7 separate regions of the Homo sapiens genome follow, and all the other regions are linked to region 1. The links are contacts of gene promoters, found by promoter capture Hi-C in human tissues and cell types (Jung and others, 2019). All regions are on one chromosome and are shown on one strand. Each heading gives the region's core, a stretch centred on a gene start or on the middle of the fragment in contact. The rest is flanking DNA. Distances are from core to core; before and after follow the strand shown.

What was found. Contacts are between HindIII fragments. The study calls those that stand out against the background at their distance.
Region 2: a contact is called between a fragment that was not itself captured here and the fragment with the promoter of SEMA6A in region 1, in 2 of the 25 tissues and cell types used here (mesenchymal stem cells and neural progenitor cells).
Region 3: a contact is called between a fragment that was not itself captured here and the fragment with the promoter of SEMA6A in region 1, in 2 of the 25 tissues and cell types used here (lymphoblastoid cells and thymus).
Region 4: a contact is called between a fragment that was not itself captured here and the fragment with the promoter of SEMA6A in region 1, in 2 of the 25 tissues and cell types used here (lymphoblastoid cells and neural progenitor cells).
Region 5: a contact is called between a fragment that was not itself captured here and the fragment with the promoter of SEMA6A in region 1, in 1 of the 25 tissues and cell types used here (lymphoblastoid cells).
Region 6: a contact is called between a fragment that was not itself captured here and the fragment with the promoter of SEMA6A in region 1, in 2 of the 25 tissues and cell types used here (H1 embryonic stem cells and mesendoderm cells).
Region 7: a contact is called between a fragment that was not itself captured here and the fragment with the promoter of SEMA6A in region 1, in 1 of the 25 tissues and cell types used here (heart left ventricle).

Annotation. Positions count from the first base shown.
Region 1 is chr5:116,573,427-116,576,231 of GRCh38, forward strand. SEMA6A (semaphorin 6A) reads right to left here and starts at 1,397. Exons shown (of 19, transcript NM_020796.5): 1 at 759-1,397. It overlaps SEMA6A-AS2 (SEMA6A antisense RNA 2), which reads left to right and starts at 992. Exons shown (of 3, transcript NR_147170.1): 1 at 992-1,113. RefSeq lists a silencer at 1,153-1,232. The HindIII fragment of the contact is 11,240 bases long and covers 1-2,805 here.
Region 2 is chr5:117,069,297-117,072,101 of GRCh38, forward strand. No RefSeq gene overlaps it. Among named protein-coding and RNA genes, the nearest start is that of LINC02214, 310 kb to the left of the region's middle. The HindIII fragment of the contact is 3,121 bases long and covers 1-2,805 here.
Region 3 is chr5:116,994,080-116,996,884 of GRCh38, forward strand. No RefSeq gene overlaps it. Among named protein-coding and RNA genes, the nearest start is that of LINC02214, 230 kb to the left of the region's middle. The HindIII fragment of the contact is 5,158 bases long and covers 1-2,805 here.
Region 4 is chr5:116,911,765-116,914,569 of GRCh38, forward strand. It overlaps LOC105379136 (a long non-coding RNA gene), which reads left to right. Exons shown (of 3, transcript XR_948692.2): 2 at 502-541; 3 at 1,775-1,830. All of the region lies in intron 1 of LOC105379135 (a long non-coding RNA gene), which reads right to left. Among named protein-coding and RNA genes, the nearest start is that of LINC02214, 150 kb to the left of the region's middle. The HindIII fragment of the contact is 5,708 bases long and covers 1-2,805 here.
Region 5 is chr5:116,895,680-116,898,484 of GRCh38, forward strand. No RefSeq gene overlaps it. Among named protein-coding and RNA genes, the nearest start is that of LINC02214, 130 kb to the left of the region's middle. The HindIII fragment of the contact is 4,439 bases long and covers 1-2,805 here.
Region 6 is chr5:116,868,632-116,871,436 of GRCh38, forward strand. No RefSeq gene overlaps it. Among named protein-coding and RNA genes, the nearest start is that of LINC02214, 110 kb to the left of the region's middle. The HindIII fragment of the contact is 6,591 bases long and covers 1-2,805 here.
Region 7 is chr5:116,846,921-116,849,725 of GRCh38, forward strand. No RefSeq gene overlaps it. Among named protein-coding and RNA genes, the nearest start is that of LINC02214, 86 kb to the left of the region's middle. The HindIII fragment of the contact is 8,367 bases long and covers 1-2,805 here.

The DNA of each region.
Region 1 (2,805 bases), core at 147-2,646:
GCTCGGGTTGGGAGCTGCGGCGGGGGACAGGACCCATGGCGGGGGCGCCGCGTCACCCGAACGGCTGCTCCCGGACACTTATTCGAGCAAACAAAGCCCGGAACCTCTGGTGGCAGCGGCCACAGGAGCCAGGATCTCACCGAGAGACAGGGCGCGCGGGTGCCTAGAGCCATTACAAGTTTCTTGCACTCCACGGAGCCCAGCCCAGACCCCACACTGACAACAAAAGATTCTCTCCGCTTCCACACCGTCTCCGCGGAACCCCTTCTCCCACCTGGCACTGGACGAAAACAGCGCTGTTATACCCAACCCCCTCCAGCCCTCGAGGGCAGAACCCCTTCCCCTGCCTTCGACACACCGGGCCAGGGAGCTTCCGAGAATCCCACCATTTAGGGCCCGCTCTGCTCCCTGCTGGGCACGCGGGAGGATGAGCCTTGGGTCTCGCACACACACCCCCAGGAGGAACAGCCATACGCGCCGTCGCGGCCCGGGGCGGCGCCGGGCGTGTGCGCAACGCGGGTGGGAAAGCTCTCGACGTGGAGCCGGACGCACTCTGGGGCGCAGGGCAGAGAGGAAAGGCAGGCAGGGCTCACGGCTGCTCCCCCAGGACCGGGCAAGGCTCGGGAAACAGAGACACAAGACAAAATAAAACGCAGGCACCACAAAGCCGACAGCACGCGCTAGCCACGGCCCCGGGACCCTCAGGCTGGAGTCCAGCTGCCCGGGAGGTGGGGCGCGCCCGGGCGCCCGGGGCGTACCTTTTCGGTGCATCGACGGACAGGCGGCCGGGGCTCGGAGCGAACTGGTACAGCGTGTATCCCATTTAGTAATCCATTATCGAGGGGATCTCTCCGGGCCGCGGGCTGCGCTCTCTCCTTCGCAAGCCTTTGTCATTCCTACATGTGTGCTTGTCTCTTTGGGGGAAATAGTCGCGGCGACTACTTTCTGGGATGCAAACGCGATGTGTTCATCTCCAATGACGAGCGGAGAAGGGGAGAGGAAAAAAGAAGCCAAAAAAAAAAAGAAGAAAAAGAAAAAGAAAACCAACAAGGAAGAGGGTAAATGTTCAAGAAACTCTTCTCCAAATCCAAATTCCACTTGGATTCCACTTCGGTGAGTCCCCTTGGTGGTGTCTGCGCCGATTAACAAGTCATTTCAGGGCGGGGGGCGGGGTGGGGGCTGGGGCAGGGGTGCAAGGCTCTGGCCCGGCTCTGCGGCCGGCAGCGCGGTGCCGCGGGTGTGGTGATGCTGGCCGCTGCTACACGCTGCTAAGCGGGCATCGCGGGCGACCGGCACCGCGGAGGAGCGCCGCTGCTGGGTTCCGAGCGCCTGGGCAGCCGAGTGCGCGGGGAGCGGAGTTGGCTGCAGCCTCACCCCGTGCCGCTCACTACTCCTCTGTCACCGGAGAGGCCGCCGCTCCCGGGCGGAGCCAAGTCCCGGACTGGATTGCGCAGATCGGACTCTCCTTCCGCAACTCCGCCTACTTTGGCTGGCGTCTCCTCCGACCCAAAGGAGAGCTGTGGTGTATGTGAGTGCGAGTGAGCGAGGCAGAGGCGGAGAAACTACGCGGTGTGGCTGCAGGTGGAGCCTTGGACCAACTGGCCAGCGCCGCTTCCTTCCACCAGGATTCCTGGCCCCACCGCGCGCTAGGCGGAGGCTCAGCGGGGGCGACTCTGGCTGGAGCCCAGCCCTCACCTCCCCCACCCCCACATCTGCTCTAGCTAGGAAAAAAAAAAAGAAAAAAAAAATCCCGGACAGCATTGCTGAGTCCTGCCAAATCAGAAAAATAAATAAAAATAGACGTAGTGCAGGAGCGAGTTACAAGAAAGGTTTTGTTCATCGATTTTCTTAAATGGAAAAGTTTTAAAGGATGAGGGTAAGTGAACGGCGAGCTTTTCTGATTCTGATTACTGTTATCAAGAGGTAGATTCCAGAAGCGATGGACGCTCTACGTAGTTAGATGAATTGGATAGAAGCCGGTGCGGTTAAAAATACACTTGGAAGATAAGAACACAGCTATTAATTACGCACATACACACGTTAATAAAGCATGTGAAGTAAGCAAATAAACTACAGTGCAGAGAATGGCGTTTTTAACGACGGCGATCTATTTTAAAACTTAATGAAGTTCACATTTTGTGGACTGGTCTTAGAAATAAGTAAACTTCAGAAATAACACGCATACAATTCCAGTGAGAACCCAAAAGGTTTATGGAAGAAGAAAATCGCAACCACTTCCAAGGCGCTATTGTTATGATCACATGAAGAATGGCAGGCACAGCCTTCTTTCACCACTTGAACTTTCAATAGCTACAAAGTCTTGCAGTTACAGGCTTGTGCCAACTCGTCGGGCCACACCACGTTCCCCTCCCCCTGCCGCTGCGCCCCGAAATCAACTGCGCGCCGCGGCTCTTGCTCCCCAAGGGGGCTTCGCAGATGGTACGGATCCTAGTCGCAACCTTTAAACAAAGTAACATCGGGCGGCCCAGCAGTTCTCGGAGAGATATTTACTAGTCATGGAGTTGGCTGAGAAAAGCAAGTGCGGAGATCGGGGTCTCAGTCCCACTTAGGCCGAGTTTCTTTATATTGGAAACTGTACCTGTTCCCTAATTGGGACTAAGACCACTAATAAGTCCACGTTCCCTCTTTGGTCGCTTCTCTAAGTACAGACATCTGCTTAAGAGGCTTCACGAAGAATAAATGCACATGGGTCAACACCCATTCCCCCCGCACCACTACCACCACCTGGAAAAGGTAGGGAGAATGGTAGGAAAAAAAGAAAAAATCAGTACCCCTGCTGTTCTC
Region 2 (2,805 bases), core at 156-2,655, 500 kb after region 1:
CTTACAGTTTTGGAGGTCAGAAGTCTGAAATGGGTATTACTAGGCTTAAGTCAAAGTATCAGTAGGGGAATAAGCCTTCTGGACACTCTAGAGGAGAATCTGGTTTCTTGCTAGCTTATGGCCCCTTTCTATCTTCAAAGCCAGCAGCAGTGGGTTGAGTCCTTACATAGAATCATTCCAACCTTGCTTCTGTTTTCAAATCTGTGTTTCTGACCCTGAATCTTCTGTCTCCTTCTTTCACATTTAAAGATCTCCTATGATTACATCGGGCCTTCCAGGATAATCCCTTCATTTTAGTGTTAGCTGATGTTAAAATGTAATGTAACAGAATATAGTAACGTGAATTCCACCTGCAACCTTAACTCCCCTTAATGTGTAACATGACATATTCACTGGTGCTTGAGATCAGAACATGGACATCTTTGGTGGGGACATTATTCTGTCTCCTATAGGATGCATATTGTCAAATTGTCAGGTTTCCCATGTAGAAAGAAAAACTGCTTTCTAAAATGCTTTTTTTTTTTTTAATCAATTTACACTTCTACAAGCAATGCATAAGAAAGTCTGTTGTGCTATATCCTCATTATATTTTATTTAAAAATTTTGTAATCTAGTGGATGTGAAATATTTCATTGTAATGTAAGTTTGTATGTCTCTCATTCCTTGTGAAGTTGAACATATTTTCAAATAATTATGGGCAGTTTTGTTTCATCTTTTAAAAAATTAGCATTTTAAATTGACAATTTGTAATAGTATATATTTTGGGGGTACAATATGATGTTTTGATATGCATATACAATGTGAAATGATTTAATCAATATAATTAACATATCCATCACTTGATTTACTTATCATTTTTGTGGAGAGACTTTTGAAATTTACTCTTTTTTTTTTTGAAATATACAATACAGCCATGTGGTAGTTCTGTTGTTAGTCTTCTGATGAACCTCCATACAAATTTCATGATGGTTGTAACAAATTAGTCCCACCAATAATGTACAAGAGTTCCCTTTTCCTTGCATCCTTGTCAATATTTTTTTTCCTTTTGCTTTTTTGATCACAGCCGTTCTAAAAGGTGTGAGATAATATTTTACTGTGGCTTTAATCAGCATTTTCCTAATGATTAGTGATGCTAAGCATTTTTCAATGTACCTGTTGGCCATTTGTAGTCTTATATTGAGAAATGTCTGTTCAAGTCCTTTGCCATTTTAAAAATTAGCTTGTGTTCTTGCTGTTGACTAGTTTGATTTCCTTATATATTTTGAATATTAGCCTTTTATCAGATGTGTTGTTTGAAAATATTTTCTCCCATTTTGTGGGTTATCTCTTCACTTTGTTAATTGTTTCATTTACTGTGCAGAAATTTGTTAGTTTGATGCCATCGCATTTACCCATTTTTGCTTCTGTTGCCTGTGTTTTCAGGATCATATCCAAAAAATTGTTGCCCAATATCATGAAGCTTTTCTTATATTTTTTATTCTAGTGGTTTTACAGTTTCAGGTCTTTCATTTGAGTTGATTTTTGTATATGATGTGAGATAAGTATCCAATTTCGTTCCATGGCATCAAGTTTTCCCAGCATCATTTATTGAAAAGACTATTTTTTCCCTACTGTGTGTCCTTAGTACCTTCATCAAAAACCATCGACTATAAATGTGTGAGTTTATTTCTAGGCTTTGTATCCTGTTTCATTGGCCAATGTACCTGTTTTTATGCCAATACTATGCTGTTTTGGTTGCAACCACTTTATAATATATTTTTAAATCAGGGAATGTGATGTTTACAGCTTTTTCTTTTTGCTCAAGATTGTCTTGGCTATTCAGGTCTTCTGTAGTTCCATATGAATTTAAAGGCTGTTTTTTCTATGACTGTGAAGGATGACACTGGAACTTTGATAGCGATTGCATTAAATCACAGATCACTTTGGATAGTATAGACATTATTACAATATTAATTCTTGGTTGGCAGTTTTATTTTTCTTTCAGCGTTTTGAATATATCATCTCACTCTCTCTGGGTGTGCAGGGTTTCTTCTGAGAGATCTGCTGAGGGCTGTATTGGGGCTCTTGAGTATATTATGCTTCTTTTGCAGCTTTCAATATTCTTGCTTTGTCTTTGATGTTTCTTAATTTGATTATCACGTGTCTTAATGAAATCGTTAGGTTGAATTTTACTGAAGACCTCTGAGTTTATGTACCTGGATGTTGTCATATTTCTGTAGACTTGGGAAAGTTTTAGCCATTATTTCCTTAAATATGTTCCTGGGCCTTTTAATTTCTCTTCTACTTCTGGAACTCCTATCATGTGAAGATTAGTTCACTCGCTGGTGTCCCATCATTTTATTGGCCTTTTTCATTCTTTTTTCGTCTCTGACAGAGTAATTTCAAATGTTTTATCTTTGAGCTCATTGATTCTTTCTTCTGGTTGATCAAGTCTACTCTTGAAGCTTTATGTTGAATTTTTCAGTTCAGTTATTTTATTCTTTATCTCTAGGATTTCTATTTGATTTCCAAAAAAGTTCCTATTTCTTTGTCAGATTTCTCATTTTGTTGATGAATTATTTGCCACATTAAAAAAAAATGTCCTACCTGCATGTCCTTGGAATTTCCTGAACTTTAAGAGGATTGTTCTGGATTATTTGTCAGTTATTTCATAGATCTCTATTTCTTCTGGGTCCATTGTTGAAGCTTTATTATCTCTTTTGATGGTGTCATATTTCCCTGATTTTAAAATAATTCCTATTTCCTTGCATTGGTTCCTGCATATTTGAGGAAACAGACAGCTCTTCTGAGATTTGCAGGTATTAT
Region 3 (2,805 bases), core at 105-2,604, 420 kb after region 1:
AAATACATTTAAAAAAAGACAATGAGGCAAAATGACCATATGTTAGGAAAATAGGAGGAGCCAGAGACAGAAGGGTAGACAAAACAAGCAATAAAATAAGCACATTTGCTAAATATTGGCCACATTAAATCCAACATGAATGAAGAAATAGTAAATTACAAGACTCATGAGGTCCATAAAGTAAAAATAAAGCAACTTTTGGAAAAACTCTTTTGCTACTGCTATTGAGACCAGAGAACATTTTCTCTAAGGAGGCCTCATAAATGATAATAGTATTAATCACTAACATTTAATTCAGTACTTTGCTTCCGTTACCTCATTTAATCTTCATAGAAAACTGGTAGTTATTCTACTTTTAAAGATGAGAAAACTGAAGCACAGAGAGGTTAAAGAAATTCCTTAGAGTCACACAGCTAGTAAGAAGCAGAACTGTGATCCCAACCCAGGTCTATCTGGGTCCCCAGCCAGGGCTTTTATACTAAATCACATCAATTCTTGCAAGTTTCCATGCAGTGTACACTGGAATGAATTGGAAAGGGATTTTCCTGTTTCTCACCACTCCCCACAATAGGCTGCAATGAAATCATTCCAGGCAGAATTAGGCAACGACAATTCCATTGGTAGTCAATCTAACCAACAGTCAAGGATGGATGAAGCTGGAAGTCATCATTCTCAGCAAACTAACACAGGAACAGGAAACTAAACACCATGTGTTCTCACTCATAAGTGGGAGTTGAACAATGAGAACACATGGACACAAGGAGGGAAACATCACACTTCAGGGCCTGCCATGGGACTGGGGGCAAGGGGAGGGAGAGCATTTGGAAAAATAGCTAATGCATGTGGGGCTTAAAACCTAGATGATGGGTTGATAGGTGCAGGAAACCAACAATGCACATGTATACCTATGTAACAAACCTGCATGTTCTGCACATGTATCCCAGAACTTTCAAAAAAAAAAAAAAAAGAATGTATGTCTCACGCTTAATTCTTTTTAGGACACAGCCTTAGAACAGAATGTCACAGTTTGCTGGACAGCCTGTTATGTTGTGAATGGATAACAGGGATGGGGTGAGGATCACCTAAGTCCCCTGGATAACTAGTTGTGTCTTGGATAGCCATAGTCCCAGGCTGGTTGCTTCAGGTCTCATAAACTTGCTCAGTGATCTAAATAGATGGCAGAAACCACGATCTTCAGCTGTCGTTGCTCTTCCAAAACTACCTGAGCCTGGCCAAAGGGGTGCTACCACTTTGCCATCCATTCTAGCCTCCAGTTGTAGAGCATAACCCTTGCCCATTTGTAAAGGGCTCCATGAAAATATTGGAGCTGTTTGTGTTTCTGTACACAGTCCAAGTGTGGCCACACAAAAGTGGGGAAAGGAGAGTGAGGGACAGGGTAGGGAAGGGGTATCTGGCAGGTGCAGTTCAAGTAAACACATAAATATCTCTCTTACATAATAAATACTTCTGTTTGTGACTGAATGTCCTTCTGAGTTGCAGCGTGATGACTAACATACTGCAAATGAGAACTTCATTAAAAAAAACTTGGTATGAAAAAGTGTGATTGGATTTGAGATTCATTTCTACATTACATTAGATAGTAGAAGAAAAACAAGAGCTGAAGCTGCTTGAATAAAAAATGCCAACTGTTGTCAATCTTTAATTGGATATGAAAAATAGCCCTGGACTTCTTTTCTTTTTGTTACCAGCTTTCTTGAGGTATAACTGATGTACGATAAACTGCACATATTTAAAGTGCATAATTTGACAAGTTTGACTTATGTATATACCTGCAAAACCATCACCACAATAAAGAGTGACCTTATGGATTATTCTCAAAAGCTCCCTCTTGTCCCCTTCTCTTCTACCCGCTTGTCACTCACCTTTTTCCTGGCCAGTGCCGGTCTGCTTTCTGTTACTGTAGATTAAATTGCATTTTCTAGACAAGAGTTGGCAAACTACATGGCCTGTGGACCAACTGCCTGTTGTTGTAAACAAAGTTTTATTGAAACACAGCTGCACTCATTCATTTATGTGTTGTCTATGGCTGCTATTGTGCCATAATACCAGAGTCCAGCAGTTGCATCAGAAATTCTATGGTCTCCAAATATTTAATGTCATGCCCTTTACAGAAAAAGTCTATTAACCCTCATTCTAGAGTTCACATAGGTGGAATCATAGGGTATGTACTTTTTTTTTTTTCTGGATTCTTTAATTCACTATAGTTATTTTGAGAGTCATCCATGTTGTTGCATGTAACATAGCTTTTTAATTTTATTACTTTTATTTTTTATTACTGGGCAATAATCCATTGTATGACTATACCAAGATTTGTTTATTTATCTACCTGTTGATGTGCATTTGGATTTTTCCAGTTTGGGGCTATTATAAACAAAGCTTCAATGGACTTTCATGTGCAAGACTTTGTTTCGCCATACTCGTTCTTTATTTTTAGATAAATGCCCAGGAGAGAAATAATTGGCTTATAGAGTAGGTGTATGTCTAACTTGACAAGAAACTGCTAAATAGCTTTCCAGTTGATAGATCCATTTTTTTTTTATTCCCATCATCAGTGTATGAGAGTTTCAGCTCCTCCACAACCTTACCAATGCTTGGTATGGTCAGTCTTTTAAATTTTCACCATGTTACACACTACTTTGTGCAGTGGTATCTCATTATAGTTTTAATTTCCATGTTATTCATTACTAATAATGTTGAACATGTTTTACTGTGTGTATTTTCCATCTGTGTATATAAATGTATATATATATATGTATATATATATATTTTGGTAAAGTCTCTATT
Region 4 (2,805 bases), core at 201-2,700, 340 kb after region 1:
AATAAAAATTACCTTAACCATACCAATAGAAATACAAGTTAGAAAATACCAATTTGACAGTAGCATTGAAGTTGATTGAGATAGAAGACAAATGTGACTCGGCAGTCACATCTCTCCATTGTCTCCCTTTGCGTGTGGGCTTTGTCTCCCATCAGTGTCCAGTAGAAGTTTTTGTATGACTTAGATGGAGCCATCCACCATAAAGTGGTGACAATGATCCACTATGGTGAACTTCACTGACGGGAGAAGAGTGTAGAGCAAGATCAGATCTGCCTAAAGCTGAGAACATCCTTGTGGTGCTGGTTGTAGAAAAAATCTCCAGTGAACCCGTCTTAGGTCATTCTGTTTTCTCAGATTTTTTGCCACCACCATGCTAAAGACTGGTAAAAACCAAAGAAGTTTGTATTTTCTTATGTCTGTTATTTTAAGTAAAGATGGCAGTATGGGCAAAGTAAGGCACAGAAACTTCAAACATTTGCCTAATTTTTTTTTCTTTTCCAGGACAGCAGTTCCCTTCTCATTTGGGATCGTTTTTGCCTGTGTAAGTATATTTTTCAGGGTCCAGTGAACTGAGAAGTGCTGTTCATTATGAGGTGATGGCTCAGATCAGCCTTGTTGGTGTAGAATGGAATGTCCCAATGATGATGGCAGCTGTGCTTGTCTACTTGTTTGTTCTAAACAGTTTCTACACATTTACAGGGTGATTTATTGCAAGCCCAGCTGCTTTACTTATTTTGTCAGTAGTTGAAATTAAAAATAATTCATTTGTAATTGAATCTCAGAGAGAAATAATATTAAATATACTTTCAGTCAGAGAAGGGGCAGAAAGTGGAAGTTTGTCTCATGAGTTAAAGCCATCTGTACGAAGATGCGCGGTTGTTTAGGGCGGACCTGTGGATGGTGGTTGGAATGCATTTTTAACTTCAGGACATGCTTTCTTTTGGGGTTTGAGCTTAAAAATAACTGTGTTTTTATGATTAGCATGACTAGCACTAGTAATCCAGAAATGAAATAAGACTTTAAAACACATGTGCATACATTCACGCCTACACACATGTATTCTTGCACACACACACACACACACACACACAAACAGTACTGCATAGATTCAGAATGAAAGTTCAAAAAGACCCAAGTGGAAACATTTCTAATAGAACTAAATGAAAGGAACACTGGAGACTGAAGCAAAGAAGGGATTTAGTAAAGGTCAGAGAAAGCTACAGTTCGTTAGCAATGGTTCTGACAACAGTTTTTGCAGTTACTGTGTCCTTCAGAATAGAGAATTGGGTTACACTGACGACTTCATTCAGGCCTCTTTTTTGTTTTTGTTTTTGTTTTTGTTTTTGTTTTTGAGATGGAGTTTCGCTCTTGTTGCCCAGGCTGGAGTGCAGTGGCGCTATCTCGGCTCACTACAACCTCCGCCTCCCTGGTTCAAGCGATTCTCCTGCCTTGGCCTCCCAAGTAGCTGGGATTACAGGCATGCGCCACCATGCCCAGCTAATTTTTTGTATTTTTAGTAGAGATGGGGTTTCTCCATGTTGGTCAGGCTGGTCTCAAGCTCCTGACCTCAGGTAATCCTCCTGCCTCAGCCTCCCAAAGTGCTGGGATTACAGGCATGAGACACCACGCCCGGCCACCATTTGTTTTTTTAAGCAGCATTCACTTTCTCCATTTATTCATATTCTTTCATTTGTTTACATATTTGTTTATTTATTCCATCAGTCATTTTAAGAGGAGTTTACTGGGAGACTTGTGTATTCTTTCTTCTTTGTAGGGTCTGTGGTAACCCAAAGTCACATGGATGAAGCCTCTGCTTCATGTGAGTGTCCTAGGGAGACAGGTTTGTAATACATTGTTTTTGTAGTGAGTACGTGGAGATAGTTGTAGAGACAAAGTGCTGTGGGACCACGAAAGAGTGACAGCAGTTTTACTAAGGACAGCAGTTGGTGAGGTTCTTATAATTGGTCCCTGACCATTCAGCTTGTCTTGCCATCCAAGATCCCCTTGGCTAAATTCCAGGTGAGTCTGTTTTCTCTTTTTCTATCTCCACTTGTTTTCCTTCTTACCATCCTTTCTCTAGGCTTTACATCTCCTTTCTCATTCATTGAAGACTTGAGTTAACCATTTTTTTCCTTCTAATTTGTGGGGAAAGGTGCCATTTTCCTTGGCCTTCTGTGTTGTGTGTTGACCTAAACATCAGGGAAGTCCTTTCCATCAAAACATTAATGCATCAGTCTCACAGTATAACAAACACAACTCTCTACAATATGATCTTATCATACCTGGGAACCTAGGAGTCAGAGTTGTGAGGCATAAAGAAATCAGATGCTGTGCATGATTTTGTTTGGTGGAAGAGAATAAATCAAGGAATCACAGGTTCCAGGTGACTTCTGAGAAAAATGTGTTGCTTCTTTGAAAGGTAGGATACAGGATTCTAAAAAGGCCTCTGGGCTACTAAAGGGTTGAGAAAATACTTAGATATATTGGATTTCACAGTGGTAAACTTATTACAAAGAATATTTAAATGAAAGGTAGTTGCTATGTGACACAGATATGGAGAAGAGATGATGTCATTAGAGACATCTTCATTTGAACGGTATGGGCTTCACATGGATGGTAGAAGTGAAGTCACAGTTTCCTTCCACTCATGTCACTGCATGCAGTGGCATCTTATCATGTCACTTGAAAAGATTCTTGAAAGCCATTGTCAAACGACTGAAAGAAGAAGACAAGCAGATGAGCTATTCTCTGGAATACAAGTAAGGGAAGACACAGAGACCAGAGGCTACCTCAAGGCCCACAGAC
Region 5 (2,805 bases), core at 105-2,604, 320 kb after region 1:
ATGGCTGACACCCCTTTAACAATACAAATTAACAAGAGAAAAGCATACATATTCATTTCATATAAGCTTTATGTGACATGGGAATAACTGTAAAGAAGTGAAAACTCAAATAAATGGTTAAACCTGCGTATTTCTATGCTAGGTTTGATGAAAAATGGATAGTATGGATAGTTATGGGTAAATGTACCAGGTCAAAAAGGGTATGATCTAATGGTAACAAACTGAGGGAAATGTAGTGAGACCCATTTGTTCAGATTCTTCTCTGTGACCCTTTGTCTTCAGAGATATGGATATTCATAAGACCCCCATGTGAGACGTACTCTCCATGTACCAATAGGATAGGAACTTCCATATCTTATGAAAGTCAGAAAATTCATCCTAGGTTTTATGACCTGCTTCAGGAAAGAGTGGTGTGGGGAGGGTGAGAGTGACCTTCTTGTTTCTGTTGCTTTCTCAAATGCCAAGGTGCCATATTTTGGGGAAGTATATTCTGAACCCAATCAGTATTCATCTCCTTCTTCTCTAACCCCTGGCAACCACTGATCTTTATACTGTCTCTACAGTTTTGACTTTTCCAGAATGTCATATAGTTCAGGTCATGCAGTATGTGGCCTTTTCAGATTGCCTTCTTTCAGTTAGTCTATGCATTTAAGTTTCTTCCCTGTTTTTTCATGGCTTGTCAGCTTATTTCCTTCTACCACTGAGTACTATTCCATTATCTAGATGTACCTGTTTATTTATCTGCACACCTACGGCAGGCCATCTTGGATGCTTCAAAGTTTTGGCAACTATGAATAAAGCTACTATAAATATCCGTGTGCAGAGTTTTTGGTAGGTAAAAGTTTACAAAACCTTTGAGTAAATATCCAGAAATGCAATTGCTGAATCGTATGATAACAGTACGTTTAGTTTTGTAAGAAACTGCTAGACTATTTTCCAAAATGACTATAGCATTTTGCATTCCCAGCAACAATCAAAGAAAGTTCTTGTTGCTCCATGTGCACTTTATTTCTAACTGCCTAACATTCAGTTGTATGTATGAATATTACATGTTACTTATTTTTTTAAGAAATACCAAACTGTTTTCCACAATGTCTATACCAATATACCTTCCACTAGCAATGTATGAGGGTTCCAATTTTAATACATTATCAGCAATTCCTTTTATATTCTGATTTAAAAAAATTATAGTAATTCAGGTGGGTGGTATGTCATTATGATTTTGATTTTCATTTTTCTAACCCCCAATGATGTTAAACATCTTTGCATGTACTTATTGATATTTGTATTCATGTATCTTTTTGGGAGTTACACTTATTCAAATCTTTTGCCCCTTTTTTTTCCTTTTGTTAGTGAGTTGTAAGAGTGATTTATATATTCTAGATACTAGACCTTTTTCAAATATGTGATTTGCAAATATTCTCTCCCATTTTGTAGGTTGCATTTTCATTTTCTCAATAATGTTCTTTGTTGTTGTTGTAGTTGTTGTTGTTTTTGTTAAGACAGGGTCTTAATAAAAGCTGGAGTTCAGTGGTGTAATCATAGCTCTCTCTGCAGCTTTGACCTCCTGGGCTCAAGTGATCCTCCCACCTTGGCCTTCCATTTACTGAGATGGACAACACTGGAAATAAAAAGACAGGTTTGGGGAGAATAATTAACATGCTGTTTTAGATTTGTCGATGTTTTAGATTTTTATTTGACATCTACAAGAGCAAAGCTGGAGATATAAAATTTGGAAGTCAATAGCATATTTGTTCTTTAAGGTCTTGTGACTTGATGAGATTACATAGGAGCAGACTCTAATAGAGAGCTAATGAGGTCACAATACTGAACCCTCGTGTCTTTCTGACATTTGGAGGTTGGTAAAAGAGGATTCATTAAGTGGGAGAAAAACCAGAAGACAACTTGACTTTAGAGCTGGATAAGTAAAAATTAAAATAATATTGATAGTTATAGTAATAAGGATGAGTATAACACAAGGTGGGGAACTGTCTTCGTTTGGGAAACTCCTTGATAGTTATGTTAAATCTGTCTCTTAGAGTACAGATTTGAACAAAATAAAAAAAAAGATTGCTAATCTGCTATTCATAAAAGATAAGCAGGAATTTGGAGGACAGGGAGAATTTTAGTGAGGGTATTGGGAATAAGGGCAGAGTGAATGACTAAACAACACAGTAGGGTGGCTGAAGAACTTCTAGATTTTAAGTTATTTTAATAGCTAGAAGTCAATTCATCTGTTTCCCCAAGACTTCAGTAATATGTGCTACATAGAAAAGAGCTTTTAGTGACTGGTGTGTGTGTGTCTCTGTGTGCATATGTGTATTCATGTGTGCAACAATGAAGACACTCATATAGATTGGGTTCGGAGCTGAGCAGAGAGGAGGGGCAGAAGAGGCCACCCGTCTTGAGAGAAGAGTGGAATGCAGACTTATGTAGCAATAGAAATTTGAAGGCAGAATGGACATGGGAAGGGAAGTCATCGGGAATGCAGAGACATCTGGGGGTCTGGGATTGAACTACCTTCTAGGTTATACCTCTATGACCTACTAGCTGCCTGATTCCTCCACCATGTTAACTGCTTTGGACTAGGATCTCTTGTTACTTAACTCTTAGTATTTATGCTGATTTCCTTAGTTGCTTGGACTCCCATTCCTGCCTGCTGCTGGACAACACCATTGGGTTATCACTTTGCTCTGGCAGTACTCTTTCCTTTTAAAATAGGCCAAATGAGATTGATGTGTATTTCCTGCTTCTAAAGAAATACAAATAAATTAAATGAGAATGTGGCCTCCTCTGATGCAAAGA
Region 6 (2,805 bases), core at 132-2,631, 300 kb after region 1:
TCTTACATTTATTTAGTGTGTTTGTTACAATTAATAAAACAATACTGATATTTTTTTTTTTTTTTGAGACAGGATCTTGCTGTGTTGCCCAGGCTGGAGTGTAGTGGTGCAATCACTGTTTGCTGCAACCTTGACTTCCTGGGCTCAAGGGATCCTCTCACCTCAGCCTCCTTAGTAGTGAGGACCACAGGTGCATGCCATTATGCCCGGCTAATTTTTTTTTTTCTGTAGAGGCAGGATTTTCCCATGTTGCCCAGGTTGGTCTCAAACTCCTGAGCTCAAGCAATCTGCTGGCCTCAGCCCCGCAAAGTGCTGGGATTACAGGCATGAGTCACTGTGCCCATCCCTGATACATTATTAATAACTAACATCCATATTTTATTCATATTATCTTTGTTTTTACCTAATGTCCTTTTTCTGTTCCAGGATCCCATCTGAGATAACCATCATGTCTCTTTAGCTTCTTTAGACTTTGACAGTTTCTCAGACTTTTCTTGTTTTGATGACCTTGACAGTTTAAGGGTACTGGTCAGGTATTTTGTAGAATGTCCTGGCTATGGTCTGAATGTTTGTGCCATTATTCACCCCTACCTGCCCCTGCCCCATGATAAATTTATCTGTTAAAATCCTGTACCCCAAGGTGATGGTATTAGCAGGTGTATTAGTCTGTTTTCATGCTGCTGTTAAAGACATACCCAAGACTGGGAAGAAAAAGAGGTTTAATTGAACTTGCAGTTCCACATGGCTGGGGAGGACTCAGAATCATGGCTGGAGGCAAAAGGCACTTCTTATGTGGTGGTGGCAAGAGAAAATGAGGAAGATGTAAAAGCAGAAACCCTTGACAAAACCATCAAATCTTGTGAGACTTATTCACTACCACAAAGAAAGTATGGGGGAAACTGCCCCCATGATACAAATTATGTACCACTGGGTCCCTCCCACAACACGTGGGAATTATGGGAGTCCAATTCAAGATGAGATTTGGGTGGGGACACAGAGCCAAGCCATATCAGCAGGTAAAGCCTTTGGGAAGTAATTTAATCATGGGGCAGAGCCCTTACAAATGAGATTAGTGCCCTTAACCAGGAAACTACAGAGAACTAGCTAGTCTCTTCTGCCACGTGAACACAGTGAAAAGGTACCACCATTAATAAGGAAATAGGCCCTCACCAGACACAGAATCTGTTGATATCTTGATCTGGGACTTCTCAGTCTCCAGGAGTATGAGCAATACATTTCTGTTGTCAATAAGCTACCCAGTTTATGATATTTTGTTATAACAGCCCAAATGAACTAAGATAGAAATTGGTACCAGAAATGGAATGGTGCTGTAACAAATACCTGAAATGTGGAAATGGCTGTGGAACTGGGTAATAGAGAGAGGCTGGGAGAGTTTTGAGGTGCATATCTAAGAAATCACAAAATCATAAACAATGTTGATAGGAATATGGACAGTAAAGTCCATTTTGATGACATCTCAGGTGGAAATGGGGAATATTTGATTAGACACTGGAGAAAAGGCCATCCTTACTGAAAAAGGGGCAAAGAACTTGTCTGAATTGTGTTCATGCCCTAGTATTTGTGGAAAAGATGGAAAAAGATGGAACTTGTGAATGATAACATAGGAAATGAAGCTGGGGACATTTCTTAGCAAAGTGTTGATGTTGAGGGTGCAGCTTCAGCTTGGCTTCTCTTGTTCTCTTGGAGGCAGATAGTAAAATGTAAGAAGAGTGAAATGATTTAAAGATGGGATTTTTAATCAAAAGAGAAGCAGAATGCAAAGATTTGGAAAATTATCACTTTGTCCATATTTAAAGGAATTAGAAAGTATATTTGAGAGAGACCACCAAAGTTATGGCCAAACTGCTGTTTGATAAAGAGGAGATTAGTATGGAGTTGTCAAGTGGTAGTCATTCAGACAATGGAAGAATAACAACAAAGGAAGTTTGGAGACCATCACTGATGCCCCTCTCATTGGAGGCCCAGAGTGCAAAAGCCTCGGGGGCAGAATGATTTTAAATGAGGGATCATGGGCTTCTACAGGACCTTCTTACTGGCTGCCTGGCACCCCTTCAAGGCTCTGCTCCCTGCATTCTAGCTCAGTGCTCCTTAGCCACCCCAGATTTTAGATCCAGTGGGCCCAAGTGCAGTGCAGGTACAATAACCACTCTGCAAAAGGGCACAACTGGTAAACCCTGGCAGTGTCTCGGTGGTGCCATCTCCACGGCCATACAGAGTCCATGAGCTGTGGAGTGTGGTTACCTCCACTTAGATTTAGAAGGATGGAGCCTCCTGGACCCTTGGGCATATGACCCAGACAGAGGGCCACTGTGGGGCTAGGCCACAACAAAGAACCCCCAGCAGGGCAATGACTAGTGGAGCCATGGGGGCAAGGCTGCCTCTGAAACCTCTGACTAGTAGAGTCACCAGGTGTGATTCCAGCCTGGGAGAGCTTAAGGCACTTGGCTATAACTAGTAAGAGCTGTGGTGTGGGCTGTGCCCAGCAAAGCCACAGGGCAGGGCTACCTGGAGCTCTGGGGGCCTAACTCTTACTCCAATGTGTCTAGAGGGTGGAACATTGAGTCAAAGGTTATTGGTTATTTTTGAGACTTAAGATTTAATGTTGTTTGCCCTGTTGGGTTCCAGACTTACTTGGGACCTGTTATCCCTTTCTTCTTTACTATTTCTCCCATTTAGAATGGGAATGTCTAGCCTATATCTGTCCTACCCTTGTATTTTGGAAGCAAATAATGTATTTGACACTACACGTTCACAGCTAGAGGGCAATTTGCCCCAGGATGAACT
Region 7 (2,805 bases), core at 196-2,695, 270 kb after region 1:
CTGGAGTGCAGTGGAACAATCTCAGCTCACTGCAACCTCCGCCTCCTGGGTTCAAACAATTCTCCTGCCTCAGCCTCCTGAGTAGCTGGGATTGCAGGTGCCCACGACCACGCCCGGCTAATTTTTGTATTTTTAGTAGAGATGGAGTTTCACCATGTTGGCCAGGCTGGTTTCGAACTCCTGACCTCAGGTGACCCACCTGCCTTGGCCTTCCAAAGTGCTAGGATTACAGGCGTGAACCACCGTGCCTGGCCATGATTGCTATTTATAATAAAATAATATTCTAAGAGACCAAGTTTTCCCCTTCAAATTCCAAGTACCTTTGATTCTGAGCTGCCTTCTCCCTTGAGTTCCTCTTCCCCAATTTAGTCATTGGTGCTCATGCCTAAGGGAAAATATAATACAGTTTTTAAGCTGCAAGAACATGTTTTGGAAACTTTGAAACACTCAGTATATAAAGCTTATGCTATAAAAAATAGATTTCAGATTAGCTGAAAATTCTTGTGACTGTCATAGGGATGGGAAAGTGACGGAAGTAAATCGGAAAGCAAAGAAGGGAAGTACAACTATGGTGGGTCTCAGAAAGGAGCCTAAGCTCTGCCCCATTGTTAGAGTCTAAAAAAGGGGAGATGAAAGGTTTGAGTACTGTTGGAGATGTTTGGATATCCAAAGGCAAAGCCTACCCAGGCTATCCTTTCAAAGGTGCAGTATATGAGGCTATTTGTGGGCATCTAGAAAAAAGGGCCATAGATAGCCCCAGCAGCTTTTCTCCAACTCCTGAATTTATCATGTGGATGAGAGAGGGGCAAGCCAACAGCTGAAAGGAAAAGCTAGACCAGAGAAGCCCCTGTGCACAGGTTGAGAAGGCCCCTCATCCCCTTGCCCATCTAAGTTTATGCAATGATATTGTGCATCTTCCTAAACATCAACCCCATTTTTCAAGTTGCACTGGGCAAAAACTATCCAATGCAATGAAAGGGAGAGAGATTTCATTATTGCTCCCTTTCTCTCACACCCCACATCCAATTCTGGGAAATCTAGTACTGCTCCACCTTTGAAAAGTTTTTAGAATTCAGCTACCTCTTACCAGCTCCATGCTACTGCCTCAGAACAAGTCTCTATCCTCATCCTCTTCCATGCCTTATTGCCATGACCTCCGTATTGCTTCCTCTTTTATTGCCCTGCACATAGCACCCAGAGTGATCCTTCTGAATAGCGCTCCTGTACTCTGAACCCTTCCGTCACGTAACAGCCCACAAGGTGCCATGCATCCATGCATTAAGGCCCCGTACTGTCTTTCTTATCTTCTCTCCTTCCAGCCTCTCCTTCAACCTGTCTCCTCCAGTCAGTCCCGCTGGTTTTCTTCCTGCCTCCGGAACGTGCCACATCTGTGGAGACCTTTCACTTATAGTCCCTCTTCTTGGAATGCTTTTTACCTGTATTTATTCATGACAAGTTTTCTCACTTTACTCACTTTTCTGCTCAAATATGACCTTATAAAAGAGGGCCTTTGGACCCACTTGTTTTTTTTGTTTTTTTTTTTCTCTTTTTAAGACAGAGTTTCACTCTTGTTGCCCAGGCTGGAGTACAGTGGCACTATCTCGGCTCACCGCAACCTCTGCCTCCCAGGTTCAAGCGATTCTCCTGCCTCAGCCTCCCAAGTAGCTGGGATTACAGGCATGTGCCACCAGGCCCGGCTAATTTTGTATTTTTAGTAGATACGGGGTTTCTCCATGTTGGTCAGGCTGGTTTCAAACTCCCGACCTCAGGCAATCCACCTGCCTCAGCCTCCCAAAGTGCTGGGATTACAGGCGTAAGCCACTGCGCCCAACCTTGGCCACAGTCTCTCATCTCTCCCTCTTTCTTTTATTTTGCTTTATTTTTCTTCTTAGCATTCACTGTTTGGATAAGATATATGTACTTATTTATTGTCTGTCTTCTCTTACTAGAATGTAAGTTTGACAAAAGCAGTCTGTTTACTACTATGCCAGTGACACAGTAGCCCTTCAATAAATATTTGTTGAATGACTAAATGAATGAATGAATGAATGAATTTGCATACTTGTCAGGGGCTTTGATACTCTGGCCCCTAGTATTACCTATTCTTAAATAAACTGTGAAATAGTCTTAGTCTGCGTCCTCTCCAAAGCAGAGCCTCAGATAAAGACTATGTGTGGATAACTTACTTAGAATGTGATCTTAGGCGTGGGAGTGAGGGTTGAGGGAATTAAGCAGTGAAAGCCAATCTAAAGGCAATTTAACCATTGCTACAGCAGCATATGGTGCAATCACACAGGATCGTCTAAGTAGGATCCTCTTCTTGGCTAGCCAAGGGTGGTCCTCTGGGGCATTAACTCCTCTGCACTCTGGGTTCATTACATATGAGTGTCAAGAGAGTAACCACTAGAGTGTCACATGATGACAACAGAGAAGTGCTAAGGTCAGAAGCCAAAAGTGCATGTGTAGGCCAAGGTGAGGTGCTGTCAAAATAGAGCACAAAAGTTGCTCAAAGCCTGTGCAGAACTATACTAATGGCTGGAATAAGGCCAAGAGGATTTAAAGTGATGCACAAGAGGCATGCAATGCAGTCCATTCTCTCAGATTTACTCAGAGAGTACATTATGTCCTCTTCAATTGGTGGTTGGCCACAATATCTGCAGAAATTTAACATAAGTGAAACAACTATAGTCTCTGCTCCTTCACTCCCATTCTAGATTTTCTTTATTTTTAACCAGTTCTCTGACTGATCTAAGTTGTTCGTTTGTTGGATTAATGCAGAGCCTCACCCCTGAGGTTTTGAGGACT